Regions from separate parts of the Homo sapiens genome. Here all the other regions are linked to region 1. The links are contacts of gene promoters, found by promoter capture Hi-C in human tissues and cell types (Jung and others, 2019). All regions are on one chromosome and are shown on one strand. Each heading gives the region's core, a stretch centred on a gene start or on the middle of the fragment in contact. The rest is flanking DNA. Distances are from core to core; before and after follow the strand shown.

Evidence for each region. The method cuts DNA at HindIII sites, captures the fragments that hold promoters and counts their contacts. A contact is called where the count stands out against the background at its distance.
Region 2: a fragment that was not itself captured here is called in contact with the fragment with the promoter of CAMK2B in region 1 in 2 of the 25 tissues and cell types used here (H1 embryonic stem cells and dorsolateral prefrontal cortex).
Region 3: a fragment that was not itself captured here is called in contact with the fragment with the promoter of CAMK2B in region 1 in 1 of the 25 tissues and cell types used here (dorsolateral prefrontal cortex).
Region 4: a contact is called between a fragment that was not itself captured here and the fragment with the promoter of CAMK2B in region 1, in 2 of the 25 tissues and cell types used here (dorsolateral prefrontal cortex and spleen).

What each region holds. Positions count from the first base shown.
Region 1 is chr7:44,323,834-44,327,322 of GRCh38, reverse strand. It overlaps CAMK2B (calcium/calmodulin dependent protein kinase II beta), which reads left to right and starts at 1,729. Exons shown (of 24, transcript NM_001220.5): 1 at 1,729-1,966. The coding sequence starts at 1,902. The HindIII fragment of the contact is 12,993 bases long and covers 1-3,489 here.
Region 2 is chr7:44,558,568-44,562,056 of GRCh38, reverse strand. No RefSeq gene overlaps it. Among named protein-coding and RNA genes, the nearest start is that of DDX56, 14 kb to the left of the region's middle. RefSeq lists an enhancer at 1-700. The HindIII fragment of the contact is 3,931 bases long and covers 1-3,489 here.
Region 3 is chr7:44,493,327-44,496,815 of GRCh38, reverse strand. No RefSeq gene overlaps it. Among named protein-coding and RNA genes, the nearest start is that of NUDCD3, 4.4 kb to the right of the region's middle. The HindIII fragment of the contact is 7,594 bases long and covers 1-3,489 here.
Region 4 is chr7:44,456,803-44,460,291 of GRCh38, reverse strand. The region is part of intron 2 of NUDCD3 (NudC domain containing 3); the gene reads left to right. Among named protein-coding and RNA genes, the nearest start is that of NUDCD3, 32 kb to the left of the region's middle. The HindIII fragment of the contact is 5,507 bases long and covers 1-3,489 here.

The DNA of each region.
Region 1 (3,489 bases), core at 480-2,979:
TGGATGCATCCAGCAGGTGCTGGAAGAAACTCCTGTGGGGTTAAACACAACGCCAAGAACAAACCTCAGACTTGGCCTCCAGTCCTTTCTCGAGCCCATGCCAGTCTGTCTGTTAGGATGGCCCAGGATTCTCTGAGTCCAAGTCTGACATAGACGGGGTCTCCCTTCCTGCTATGGTCCTGCTGAAGTCAAGGCCAGGATCCCTCTGCTTCCTCAGCTGGGGACTTCCCCAGGTGGCCCAGCATTTGCCTTTGGCCTGAGAATTTCTCGTCCTCTAGTGTCTTCTGGGTGCAGGTGGGTCGATGGCAGGGACTTGTTGCCGTGTGGTCTACTAATTGCCCAGCAGTCCCATGCCAAATGCATCCTGGCCCAGAAGGGCCCTGGCTGCCAGCACTCAGAATGCCTTTATCCCCTCCCTTATCCACATGACATTTATTGTGGCTTCTGGGGCTTGCCCTGGGCTGGCCACGAGGTGAGAGGGATGAGCAGGATAGGCCCAGAATTGGTCCTTGGGGAGCAGTAAGGAAGTCATATCAGGGCAGCAGCGTGACCCAAATCCAGAGCTGGCTGCTGGAAACCCCCTCCTCAGAGCCTGCCCAGGATGGACCCCGTCAGAGAAGAGTGTGGGGATGCTGGAGCCCAGTGGTCTAAAGTCCCGGTTCTGGACAGCAGCCCTGGTGCCAGGCCTCAGGGAAGGCTGTTTTGTGGGAAACCGGGTCGCCCTGCCTCCTGCCTGCCTCCCTGCACTCTCCTCCTCCTTGGCTGCTTTCAGGAGGGGGTTGGGGTGTGTGGGCCCTCCTCCTCCAGGCAAAAGCAGGGGGCAGGCAGGTGGACCGTGCTGGAAAAGGAGAGAATGTGCACCTTTACCTGATCAGGGTGGCTGTGAGCTCTCAGGCCCCCCAAATTGCTGGTGGAGCAGCCCCTGTTCCCCTGGCTCAGGGTCCGTTGGTCTGGACTCCGAATGTTGCCTCCTGGGACCTCCATTCCAGACAACCCAGCAACCAGTCTTTGGAGAAGTGAGGGGGAAGGGAGGGGCTGGGGCCAAGGGGAGGGGGCAGGCCCCACCCTTTCACTTTCTCATGCTAGTGACCCAGTGTGTACACTGCCTTCTGGGCGGTTCCTCCTGGCCAGGCAGCCTTTGGGGCATGTGTGGCTGATGGAGACTGGGCAGAAGGGATCTGGCAGCATCTCTTCCTGAGGGTGTGAGGAATGAGTCCTGTGGAGGGCAGCACATGAGCCCTCTACCTCCATGTGGGCCCCAGTCCCCTCCTGCTGTCAGGCTAGGTGGGCCTTCGAGAGAGAGAGAGGAGGCTGCGTTCATTATGTGCACTCTTCTGTGTTATGTGAGAGCGAGGGGTCGGCAGCAGCAAGTGGCCTGCGTGCGCGAGGTGCGGGCGTGGTGCGGGTAGAGGATGAAGGCGTCAGTACAGGGCGCGGGTGTGTGTGTGGGGTGCGGGGGCGGGCGGGGGCGGGCGCGCGTGTGAGTGCAGGTGCAGGTGCAGGTGCGTTGCGGGTGCGGGGCAAGGGTGTGTGTGCAGGGCGCGTGTGCAGATGCAGGGCGCCGGTGCCCTGCGGGTGCGGGTGCAGGAGCAGCGTGTGCAGGGCGCGGGGAAGGCGCGTGCAGGGGGCGGCGGGCGGGGCGGGCGCGGCGGCGGCGGCGGTGACAGCGGCGCCCGCGCCTCCCCGCGCGTAGGTGTGCGGCGCGCTCCTGGCGAGGACGGAGCGAGCAGATCTCGCGTGCGCTCGCCGCCCGGCGCAGCCCAGCCCGGCCCCCGCCTGGCGCCGCGAGCCGAGGTGTCTCCCGCGCCCGCGCCCGTGTCGCCGCCGTGCCCGCGAGCGGGAGCCGGAGTCGCCGCCGCCCGAGCGCAGCCGAGCGCACGCCGAGCCCGTCCGCCGCCGCCATGGCCACCACGGTGACCTGCACCCGCTTCACCGACGAGTACCAGCTCTACGAGGATATTGGCAAGTAAGAGCAGCGGCGCGCGCGGGCTGGGCCGGGGACCCCAGAGGGCCGGGACCTCCGGGACCCTCCGCGCCGCCGGCTCCAGGCGCACTGCGGGCCCGCGCGCCGCCGGCTTCTCTGGGCTCCGGGCCCAAGCGCACGGCCCCGCGCGGCCCCGACCCGCGAGCCCCCGGCCCCGGGCCTGGCTGCCTGACCTCAGCGCGCGCGGCCCTGCCCAGCTCTGCCCAGCGCGGCTGCCGGGCCGGGGCTCCGGGCTCGCGACTTGGCGCGGCGGGGGCGGCAGCAGGTGTCCCCGGAGCGCCCGGCAGACGTGACGCATTTGGCGGCGGGGAGGTCAGAGAGGAGGGGCGCGCGGGGGTGGCCCCCGGGCCTGGAGCGCCGGGAGGGGTCGGCTGCGGCCCCAGAGGGTCGTCCCCGACGCGGGTGCGCTGTCCCCACCCCCACCCGAGCGGCAGGCGGCGGGGGTGGCGGGACCTGCTTGCGCCTGCTCCTGCGCGTGGCCCCATCCGCGCTGGGGGTGCCGGCGTGGGAGAGCCTCTGCTGTAGGTCCCCTGGGGAATCTGGGTTCTGGAGGATTTTCCCCCAGATTCTTCTGGAAACAGGAATTTGGAGGTGTGGGGAGGACGAGGTCAGGGAGCCTGGATCAGGTCATGGGGATAGCGGGGAGAGACTAAGAGCCTGACTGGATTGCAAATTTCAGGGTCATCGAGGTGGATGGGGGCTGGATTTTGGACTGTTGGCGGGGGCGCCCTAAAGGGGAAGGGGCTTTGAAGGTTTGTTTGAAGTGGGACCTCACGGGGAACAGGTGCTGTGGCTCCCGTTCTCTCCTTGGCAGTATGAGCAGTGTAGGGCGAAGGTCTGGTTCGTGGTCCCCGGACCCGGCTTTGCCCCTGGGGTGAGATGGGGAGCGCCTCAGGGGCCTCCTGTCTGGCCTGGGGTCTCCCGTTCTGAGAATCAAGGTGGCTGCACCTGGCATCCCTAGGGCTAGCTTCAGAACTCCTGAATCTCCAGCCTGACTGGGCCAGAGCCCCATCCTCCTGCGTCCTCCCCCATCCTCCTCCGTCCCTTCAGTGCAGGCGGTGGGGGCGCTGGCGGTGCTGGCGAGATTTCCTCTTACACATCCAGCAACAGATCCTTTTTTTCCTTTACTAAATAAGTGTCTGGTGAAACCTTGTGGTGGGTGAGGGACGCTGATCATTGATAATTGTGGAGTGCGGAGCTGGAGGAGTGTGGGGGTGTGTTCATTCCCCACTTCTCCCTGCACGTGTGGAGAGAATTCTGGTAGGGGTTAGGGATGTGGAGCCCAGCCCTGCAAGAAGCCCATGCTGGATGGGTGGGGTGGGGGGCCAGGCTGGCTGGGGGACCCTTCCTTGGGTGGATCTGGAGAGCACCACAGGGCTGAGACCTCGAGGGAGAGGGCGAGCCCAGCCCCCTTCATGCGGATCCCTGAGTGGGTGGCTGGCTCCCCGGTCTTCACCCCTCAGATGCACCGATCTACCCCCGTCTGTCCTCTTGGCCTCCAGAGG
Region 2 (3,489 bases), core at 319-2,818, 230 kb before region 1:
AAACCTGCTGAGATGCAGTAGGTTTGGCGTAGAATGCACTGAGGGTATCTGTGGCAACAGTGGGCTAAAGAACAAGGCACATCAAGGGGGTCTTCCGACGAACACCCCAAGGGTTGCCTCCACCACGCAGCATCCTGCTGTGGCTCGCCTCAATGTCCCAGGTGCTCTGTGGGCACAGTGGCCAGGTCAGACCATGATGGCCACTTTCTGACTGTATGGTCTCATACAGGGAAGGCATGTCACTTTTCTTGGCCTTCTCTAGGTTCTCACCTGTAAGTGGGGGTAAAATGTCCCCTCCAAGGGTTCCTGTAGGGGCCGAAGTGGCTCAGGCACCTGGCACGCCTGTTGCAGCCCAGCTCTGTGCTAGCACCTCCCAATGCCTGTTGAATCCACCATTGCCTTCTGGGACGTGTCTCCATACTTCCACGAGAATACGTCTAGGGCACAGCCTGGGGTTCTGCATTTGAGTTCTCACCTCCGTCCCAGGTGAGCCCAAAGGTGCTGGTCTCTAGTCCACATTTGAGAGGCAAGGCTTTAATATCCACCACACACATTTATTTTGCAGATTGGCAAAAGCTTAGATTAACTAGCCAGCCCAATGTCACTTGGCTAAGTGGTAGAGGGGAGGTGCTGTGTCTGTCAGACTCTAGTCTGGAATTGGAGGTGGGATACCTAGGTTCAAGTCCTGGATATGAAACTTCCCTGTCACATCCCTTCTCTGAGCCCAACACTTAATCCGAAAGTCATGGTGACGTGGGAGGCCAGGTAAAGTAGGAGATGTCTAGCTAGATTGGAATTTCAAATAATGAGGAATTTTACAGCATAACCGTGTCCTGTCCAATATTTGGGACATATGCTAAAACAGATATTCACTGTTTCTCTGAAATTCCAGTATAGCTGGGCATCCTGCTTTTTATTTGCTAAATGTGCAACCCTAGGTTGTGAGACCTCTCTGACCCACGCGTGGCCTCCTCCAGGAAGTCTTCCTGAGCGCCAGCCTGGGCTGGGCATCCTCCTCTGTGTGTCTGATGCTGCTCTGACCTCATGAAGCTCTAATTGCTGGGGCCTGTCCCCACCTTGATGTGGGAGCTCTTCGGAGGCAAGGACCATGCCAAGTTGCATATCTGTGTGTTCCTGAGTCCAGTGGTTCATTAAAAGCTTTTCCCTGAGAGTATCCTTAATGCCCCGGAGGTAATTCTCTTTTCACAACCTTTCTACTGCCTGAGGCTCTTGAGGACTAATTCCAGTTAAAAGCAGAGGGAAGGATGTGGTAGGAATAGCACCGCATGGAGCTGGACTCTGTGCCCCCCGTGCAGCAGGCAGGACCCTCCCTCTGTGTCACCTCCATGACTCAGGGCTCAGACAGGAAGCCCTCATCCTCGTCCTCCACGGGTCTCATGTTTGTCAAGGCCAGGGGTATCAGGCGTAGTAGGCAGGGGCCCATGCCTGCTCCCATCTGGGAGACCCTGCTTCAGGCCCCTCTCATGGCCCCTTTTGTTCCCCACAGCTCACTGTACAACTTGTTGGTTCAAGGTTAGAAAATGCAGTTTTGTGTTGAGGGGGACCATCACAGAAGACAAAGGGTCCAGGATGAAGGCTACCCATCAGCTTGCAGGGCTGGGACGAATGTGAGAAGCAACTGATGCTTGTACAGTAGAGAGTAAGCATGTAGGGCCAGTCCCCAGACCTTGCCTCCCCTCAGCCTTGACATGTGATCTCCATTTCTGGTGGCTACCCCTGCTAGTGGTCTGGCTTCACCATCTTAGCCCTGCCCAGGCTAAGACCCTCTTCCATCAGAACCTGCAGCTGGGATGCTGGGAGCAACAGTCAGGGCAGAGCTGCCCATCCTCCCATTCAGGGAGCCCTCAGGAAGTACTTGGGACCCCCCGACCCTTTATAGATTCAGCCTGCCTCATCCCCTCCATGGACCAACACGCCCTTCTCCTCAGCAGTGGGCTGGGGGACCAGGCTCCTGAACTGCTTGTGGCTGTTCCAGCAGTGGGGAGATGGAGGGTCACACAGTCCTGAGTCTATGGCTTTGACAGCAACGGGTCCTGACTGCAGCTGTATTCGTGAAGCGAAGTACCTAATACAATCACCGAAATGTACAAATTGGACCCCTATAGGTTCAAGGATTCTTGGTGTAGGAGGTATGGCCCCCGCCCCGGGAACCAGGACCTCAGCTTTTAGAAGCAAAATGCATGAATGCAGTGATGGTTAGGCCAAGTGCCAAGGGAGACAGCCAACCCCTGCTATCATGGCCAGAGGAGGGAGAGACCACTCAGGCCTGGGTGGTGGTAGAAATCCTCACTGCCAAGGAGATTGTATGCGCAGGCGTTGGGAAGGCCCGGAGAAGCCTGAGAGACAGGCTTGGCTTGGTTATAGCAGAGCTGGGTGGAGGGAGCAGATTAGTTGGCTTAGCACAGGCTTCCTGCAGGGTGGTGGTTCTTGGCCAGATTTGCCCCAGTGGGGCTTTTGGGAAAGTATAGAAATATTGTTGTTTTTTTTTTTTTGAGACAGAGTCTTGCTCCGTTGCCCAGGCTGGAGTGCAGTGGTGTGTTCTTGGCTCACTACAACCTCCATCCACCTCCCGGGTTCAAGTGATTCTCCTGCCTCAGCCTGCCAAGTAGTTGGGACTACAGGCATGTGCCACCACACCCAGCTAATCTTTGTATTTTTAGGAGATGGGGTTTCACCATGTTGGCCAGGCTGGTCATGAACTCCTAACCTCAAGTGATCTGCCCGCCTCAGCCTCCCAAAGTGCTGGGATTACAGGTGTGAGCCACTGTGCCAGCCAAGAAACATTTTAGGTTATCATATCTGGGCAATGGATGCTACTGGCTTTAGGTGGGAAGAGGCCGGGGATACTGTTAAAATCATGCAATGTACAAGGCAGCCCCCACAAGAGAGTTCTGTGGTTGAAAATGTCCGTAGTGTTGAGGTTGAGGACTCTGCTGTGGGGCAACAGTAGGAGAAGGGGTGCTAATAGTCAGGTGGTGGACAGCAGGGAATTACAGGTACATCAGTTAGGAGTGTATACAGCTGCAAGTAAGAGACCACCAGATGGCAGGAACAGTGGGAACAGAATGGTTTATCTTTTTCATGTGTCAAGATAAGTGGTGCTAAAGTCAGGCATGGTGGCCCTCACTTATAATCCCAGCAATTCAGGAGGCTGAAGAGTGAGGATCACTTGAGGCCAGGAGTTCAAGACCAGCCTGGGCAACACAGTGAAATGCCATCTCTAAAAATAAAAATTAAAAAAATTAGCCAGGGGCTGGGTGCAGTGGCTCACGCCTGTAATCCCAGCACTTTGGGAGGCTAAGGCGGGTGGATCACCTGAGGTCAGGAGTTCGAGACCAGCCTGGCCAACATGGTGAAACCCTGTCTCTACTAAAAATATAAAATTAGCTGGGCATGGTGGCACACCTGTAATTCTACTTACTCGGGAGGCTGAGGCAAGGGAATCACTTAGAACTGGGGAGGCGTAAG
Region 3 (3,489 bases), core at 441-2,940, 170 kb before region 1:
CTATTATTAACTTATTACATTAGTATGGTTCATTTTTCACAATTAATAAATACTGATAATTACTACTAACTAAAGTGCCTACTTTATTTTGACTTCCTTAATTTTTACCTAATGTCCTTTTTCTGTTCCAGGATCCTACCCAGGACCCCACATGATATTTAGTTGTCAGGTCACCTTAGGCTCTTCTTGGTTGTGACAGTTTCTCAGGCTTTCATTGTTTTTGATGACCTTGACAGTTTTGAGGAGTACTTGTTAGGTATTTTGTAGAATGTTCCTCAAATGGGGCTTGTCCAACATTCTTCCCATGATTAGACTAGGGTTATGGGTTTTTGAGAGGAAGACCACAGAGGTAAGGTGTCATTCATAGCATATTAAAGGTGTATACTATCAAACATGACTTATCATTGTTGATGTTGACCTCGATCACCTGGCTGAGGTCATCCTCGTCAGGTTTCTCCCCTTTCCACGCTCTACCATTAGGAAGAGTCACTACATGTATCCTAGACATAAGAAGTAGGGAGTCATGCTCCACCTCCTTGAGGGCAGACTAGCTACATAAATAACTGGGAATTCTTCTGAACAGAAAATGTGTCTATTTTCTTCCATTTCTTTATTCAGTATGAGAAATATCTCTATATATCATATAGGTATGTATATATCAATATATTTATATGTATATCGGTATGGACTCACAGGTATTTGTTTTATATTTTGGGTTCTAATATAATAATACCTTATTTTGCTGCTCAAATTGTTCCAGCTTTGGCCATTGGAAGCGCTTTCCTTTGTCATACCCCCATCATTGTGTGGTTTTTTTTTTCTTTGCACTTCCTTTACTTTGAGACACCACCCACAAGATGCTCCAGGCGCATCTTGTATATTTTCTGTGCCAGTCCTAGAATCAGCCATTTCTCCAAGAAGCCCTGGTTCCTTCTATTGGAGAATATCAGAAACCAAGATCTGGGTGGAAGGTATGCTCGTTGTTACTGAAGCATTGTTGCTTCTAGACCTTCTCAGCTGAGAGCAAGTAAATACATGTATGTACACTCACCTGCATATATACACATTTCTGTAAACAGTTCTACACATAGCCATCTGTATCTATAAGGATGAATTTCTAACTCTGATCTATTACCACATGGATCATTCTAGCCTCCTTCCCCGCTTATTTATAACTCTCTCACTCCACCAGTGAGAAACCTGGATCCCACCACCCTCCACCATTTACTTAATTGCTCATTTCCACTATACATATCTAGCGGTTTCAGAATTGATAACCCATACCCCTGTTAGGAATAATTGTATCAACTAGATTTCAGTGTTTATATACAGTTCCTTTTGTCTTTAGTCTTACAGACTCTGCTCATTTCCAAAGTTACTTAGGACAGCATCTCTTTCTATCATCCCTTCAGTGAGGTTGTTTCATACATCTGTGACACAGTTAGATTGTTTTGTCACATTCTGCAACCCATTCTGGGATCCCCCAATCTCCTAAGTGATTTTTTAAAAGACTGCCTATATTAAGGTTTACTCTTGGTGCTATAAATTTCTATGGGTTTTGACAAATGTGTAGTGTCACGTATCTATCATTATTACTACTAATTATTATTATTAATAATTATTACTATTAATTACTAATTATTACTATTAATTACTAATTACTAATTATTGCTATTATTACTAATAATTACTATTAATAATTATTACTATTAATAATTATTACTATCATTATTCTATGATAGTAATTACTATCATATAGAATAATTTTACATCCTAAAAAATTCCCTGTGCATCATTCAACCTTTTTTTCACACGCAGACCCTGACAACCACTGATCTTTTACTGTTTCTACATTTTGCATTTTTCAGAATGTCATATAATTGGGTGGTAGCATTTTTTGAGTGGTTTCTATCTCTTAGCAATACGCATTTAAGATTAAGCCATATCTTTTTATTGATTGACAGCTTATTCCTTCTTACTGCTGAAAACAGTACTTCATTCTATGAATGTACTACCTTTCGTTTATCCAGTACCTGTTGACGGCACCTGGTTGCTTCCCATTTTTGGCAATTTTGAGTAAAGCTGCAATAAACATTTGCATGTAGATTTCTGTATGGACATAGTTTTCAAATAAGCTGGGTAAATACATAAGAGCATGATTGCTGGACTGTGTTATGACATTATGTTTAGCTTTCCATTCAATTTAAAAGATATTTTGGCCGGGCACGGTGGCTCACGCCTGTAATCCCAGCACTTTGGGAGGCTGAGGCGGGTGGATCACAAGGTCAGGAGATCGAGACCATCCTGTGAATGGTGAAACCCCGTCTCTACTAAAAATTCAAAAAATTAGCCGGGTGTGGTGGCGGGCACCTGTAGTCCCAGCTACTCGGGAGGCTGAGGCGGGAGAATGGCGTGAACCCAGGAGGCGGAGCTTGCAGTGAGCCGAGCTGAGACTGTGCCACTACACCCCAGCCTGGGCGACAGAGCGAGACTCTGTTTCAAAAAAAAAAAAAAGATATTTTATTTACTTTTTGAATAGGTAATGCATGTATATGGTATCAAATACAAAAGTAAGTTTTTCTCCTGTTTTATAGTGTTTCCCTCAATTTCCCTTCTCCAGATGCAGCGTCTGTTCCATTTCTTCCTTTAGGTGCTAAAGAAAATTATTCAAAACTTTGAATATAGCAAGAAGATGACTGCATGTGCTTCCAGTTATACTGAGGAATTATATAACAGGCTCACCCGAGATTCATTAATTCTCTAGGGCAGTGATTCTCAGAGTGTAGTATGTGGCCCTGGGGGGCCTCCAAGGTAAAAATAACAATACTATGATGTTATTTGCTTTTTTACCATGTTGACATTTGCAATGATGGTGCAAAAGCAATGGCAGGTAAAACTGCAAGTGTCTCAGCAGGAATCAAGGCAGGCCATTGTCCTAGCTTCCTGCTGTCACAAAGTACCATAGACTGGGTGGCTTAAACAACACATGTTTATTCTCTCACAGTCTTGGAGGCCAGAAATCCAAGACCAAGGTGTTGGTATCTGGTGAGAATTCTCTTCCTAGCTTGAAGCAATCTCACTGTGTCCTCACATGGCCTTTCTTCTGCATGTGTGCAGAGTGAGATCTCTAGTGTCTCCTTCTCCTCTTATGAGGATACCAGTTCCATTGGGTTAAGGTCCCACCCTTATAACCTCATTTAACCTTTAAGTATCTTTTAAAGGCCCTTCTAACCACCAATGTGACTCCAAATATAGTCCCATTGAGGACTGGGGCTTCAACATATGAATCTGGTGGGGGGCAGGCACATTCAGTCCATAACGGCACCAAACTCGACTAGTATGCACTGCCTTACACTTACAGGTTAAAAATGTTCAGTTTCACTTAAGAATGCTCCTGATAGCATTTAATTATTAATTTTATTAAAAGTTGTTTTATTAAAAGTTCTCCACTTGAGAACAAGTCTTTTTAATAGTGCATGATTAAAAGAG
Region 4 (3,489 bases), core at 400-2,899, 130 kb before region 1:
CACAGTGATTTACTGTTGTTATTTCCTACTTTGTTAACTCATTAACTCCACTTACTCATTGATGGGAGTCTGGATATTATCCTTCTGTAGTTTTACAAATCCTCACATTTTCTTATTCACTGCTTTTCTTCTATCAGTTGATTCACTGAATTTAGTGTGGGGATTTTACCACATCGATACTGCCTTCAGTGATTTTCTTTATGTTAGATTTTAGAAATTTCTCTCTGCTTTAATGTTGTAGGCTAAATATACCATTCCATTGTCTACTAAAGGGCTCAAGACTGTTCTTTAATATTGTTTGATTTCTTTAAAATGAATTCCACTGTGACTTGATCAAGTTTTGTATTATACCACTTGGGGACTTTAATTGATATTATGTTAAAACTCCATATTAACTTGAAGAGTATGATCAGTTTTGTTCTCGTTAAATTTTCCTGTTAAAAGGAAGCATATCATTCTATTGTTGGTGGCTTCCTTTTTTCTGTCATTAAATTCAGTTACAGAAAGTTGCCCTCAAGAATTATATACAAATCTCATGTGTCCTCAGATCCATTAGTAGCCATACAGTTAATGTTTGTGTTGCTTTTAGCAATGGTATCTTCTTCTCCACCATATGTTATAGATGTGTGACAGTTAGGAAAGCAGTTGTTTAATTAATTACAAAAGTAATTTGGAAAATTTGGAAAATAGAATTATCCAGTTCTATCACTATTATTACCTTGTTCAATTTTCTTCTGATTAAAACAATTATATTTGCTAGTTCTTTATTAGACAATTATAATATTAGAAAATACATGACCACAGGTCTAGGCATGGTGGCTTATTCCTGTAATCCCAACACTTCAAGAGGCCGAGGCAGAAGGATTGCATGAGCCCAGGAGTTCCAGACCAGCCTGGGCAACATAGTGAGATCCCGTCTTGAAAAATTAGCCAGGCATGGTGGTGCATGCCTATAGTCCCAGCTATTCAGGGGGCCGAGATGGGAGAATTGCTTGAGCCCTGTAGGTCAAGGCTACAGTGGGCCATGATCGTGCCACTGCACTCAGCCTGGGCAACCAAGTGAGGCCCTGTCTCAAAAAAAAAAAAAAGAAAAAATTAAGAAAAATCCATCTACAATAGAATATATATAAAAAAATACTTAGGAATAAATTTTTAAAACTCCAAAACTAATAATACTCCCAAAACAACACAACATTGTTGAAAGGAATTTCTTCTTTATAATCCTGCAGCCATTGTCAATATACTGTGAGATGTCCTTGCACACCTTTCTCCAGGCTCATACACATGCTTGTATGTATGCATACACATCACCACACACACACACACACACACACACACACACACACACACACACAGCACTCCCCGTCTAATCCTGCAGCCAGTGTCAGTATACTGAGATGTGTCCTTGCACACCTTTCTCCAGGCTCATACACATGCTTGTATGCATGCACACACATCACACCAAGTGCACATGGCACACCATACCAGACACATGTACGGTTTTAAAAACTTGAGATATAGTTCACGTATCTTAAAATTTGTACTTTAACATGTACAATTCAGTGCTTTTCACATATTTACAAGGTTGTATAACTACCACTATTATCTAATTCCAGAACTTTTTTTTTCCCCCGAGACAGAGTTTCGCTCTTGTTGCGCAGGCTGGAGTGCAATTTCACAATCTCAGCTCACTGCAACCTCCGCCTCCCAGGTTCAAGTGATTCTCCTGCCTCAGCCTCCCAAGTAGCTGGAATTACAGGCATGCTCACCATGCCTGGCTAATTTTTTGTATTTAATAGAGACGGGGTTTCACCATGTTGGTCAGGCTAGTCACAAACTTCTGACCTCAGGTGATCCACCTGCCTCAGCCTCCCAAAGTGCTGAGTTTACAGGTGTGAGCCACCATGTCTGGCCCCAGAACATTTTTATTACCTGAAAAAGAACTTTGTATGCATTAGCATTCACTCCTCATTTTCTCTCAAACCTCCCAGCCCTAGGCAATTACCAGTCTACTTTGCCTTTGTAGATTTGCCAATTCTGACATTTCATATAAATGGAATAATACATTATGTGGCCTTTGTGTCTGGCTTTTCTCACTTAATGGAGTGTTTTCAGGATTCATCCATGTTGTAGCATTTATCAGTACTTCATTCCTTTTACTGACAGAATAATATTTTATTGTATGGACATACTTCATTTTGTTTATTCATCGGTTGGTGGACAGTTGGATTGCTATTATGAGGAATAGTGCTATGAACATTTGTATACAAGCTTTTGTGTAGACATATATGTTCATTTGTCTTAGGTATATACCTAGGAGTATAAATGCTGGGTCCTGTTAAACTGTATGTTTAACCTTTTGAGGAAGTGCCAGGCTGTTTTCCAAAGCAGTTCCACCATTGTACACCAGCAATCTATGGGGATTCCAATTCCTTCACATCCTTGCCAAAACTTATCTATTTTTTTTGATTGTGGCTATTCTAGTGGGCATGAAGTGGGATCTCATTGTAGTTTCCATGTGCATTTTCTAGTAACTAAAAATGTGTATTTTTTCATGTGCGTTATTGGCTATTTGTATATCTTTGGAGAAATAACTATTCAAACTCTTTAACCATCTTTATGTAGTCTACATACAAGTCCTGTATTACATATATAATTTACAAATATGTTTTCCCATTAGTTTCGTAGTTTAAAACATGTATTCCTAAGTATTTTATTCTTTTTTGAGTCTATTGTAGATGGAATATTTCTTAATTTCATTTTCAGATTGTTCATTGCTAGTTTATAGGAATACAATAGATTTTTGTATAGTGATCTTGTAACCTGCAGCTTTGCTAAATTTGTTTATTAATGCATAGTTTTTAGTGGATTCCTTAGGATTTTCTATATACAAGATCTTTTCATTTGCAAACAGATAATTTTACTTTTTTCTTCTCATCTGGATACTATTTATTTTCTTGCTTAACTCCCCTGGCTAGAACTTCTAGTACAAAGTTGAATAGAAATAGTGAGAGTAGGCACCCTTGTCTTATTCCATTCATCGGGGAAAATGTCTAGTGTTTCACCATTGAGGATGATGTGAGCTACAGTCCTTACTTTTTGTTAAATCTCATGATTCAGTTGACAGAATCCTCTAGTAACCTCGCTAGAAAGTGACCATGACACAGAAAGTTTTTGAGACCTCATCAGGGGTCACCAACTTCCTTGATTTGCCTGGGATTGAGAGATTATTGGGACATGTGAATTTTAGGTTTTTTTTTTTTTAACCAGGTTATATCTGGGTAAATAGTTTACCTAGGACTGAGGGAATTCCCAGGATGTGAGACTAATGCTGCTGAAGCCAGGAAAATCCTGGACAAACCAGGATGAGCTTGTTACCCTGCCACATGCCTGAAAATGCTTTTTTTCTATCTTTATGTTTGATCGATAGTTTGAATCTGTAGAACTTAAGGTTGGAAATATTCCCTGCATTCCTCCATTTTCTTCTAG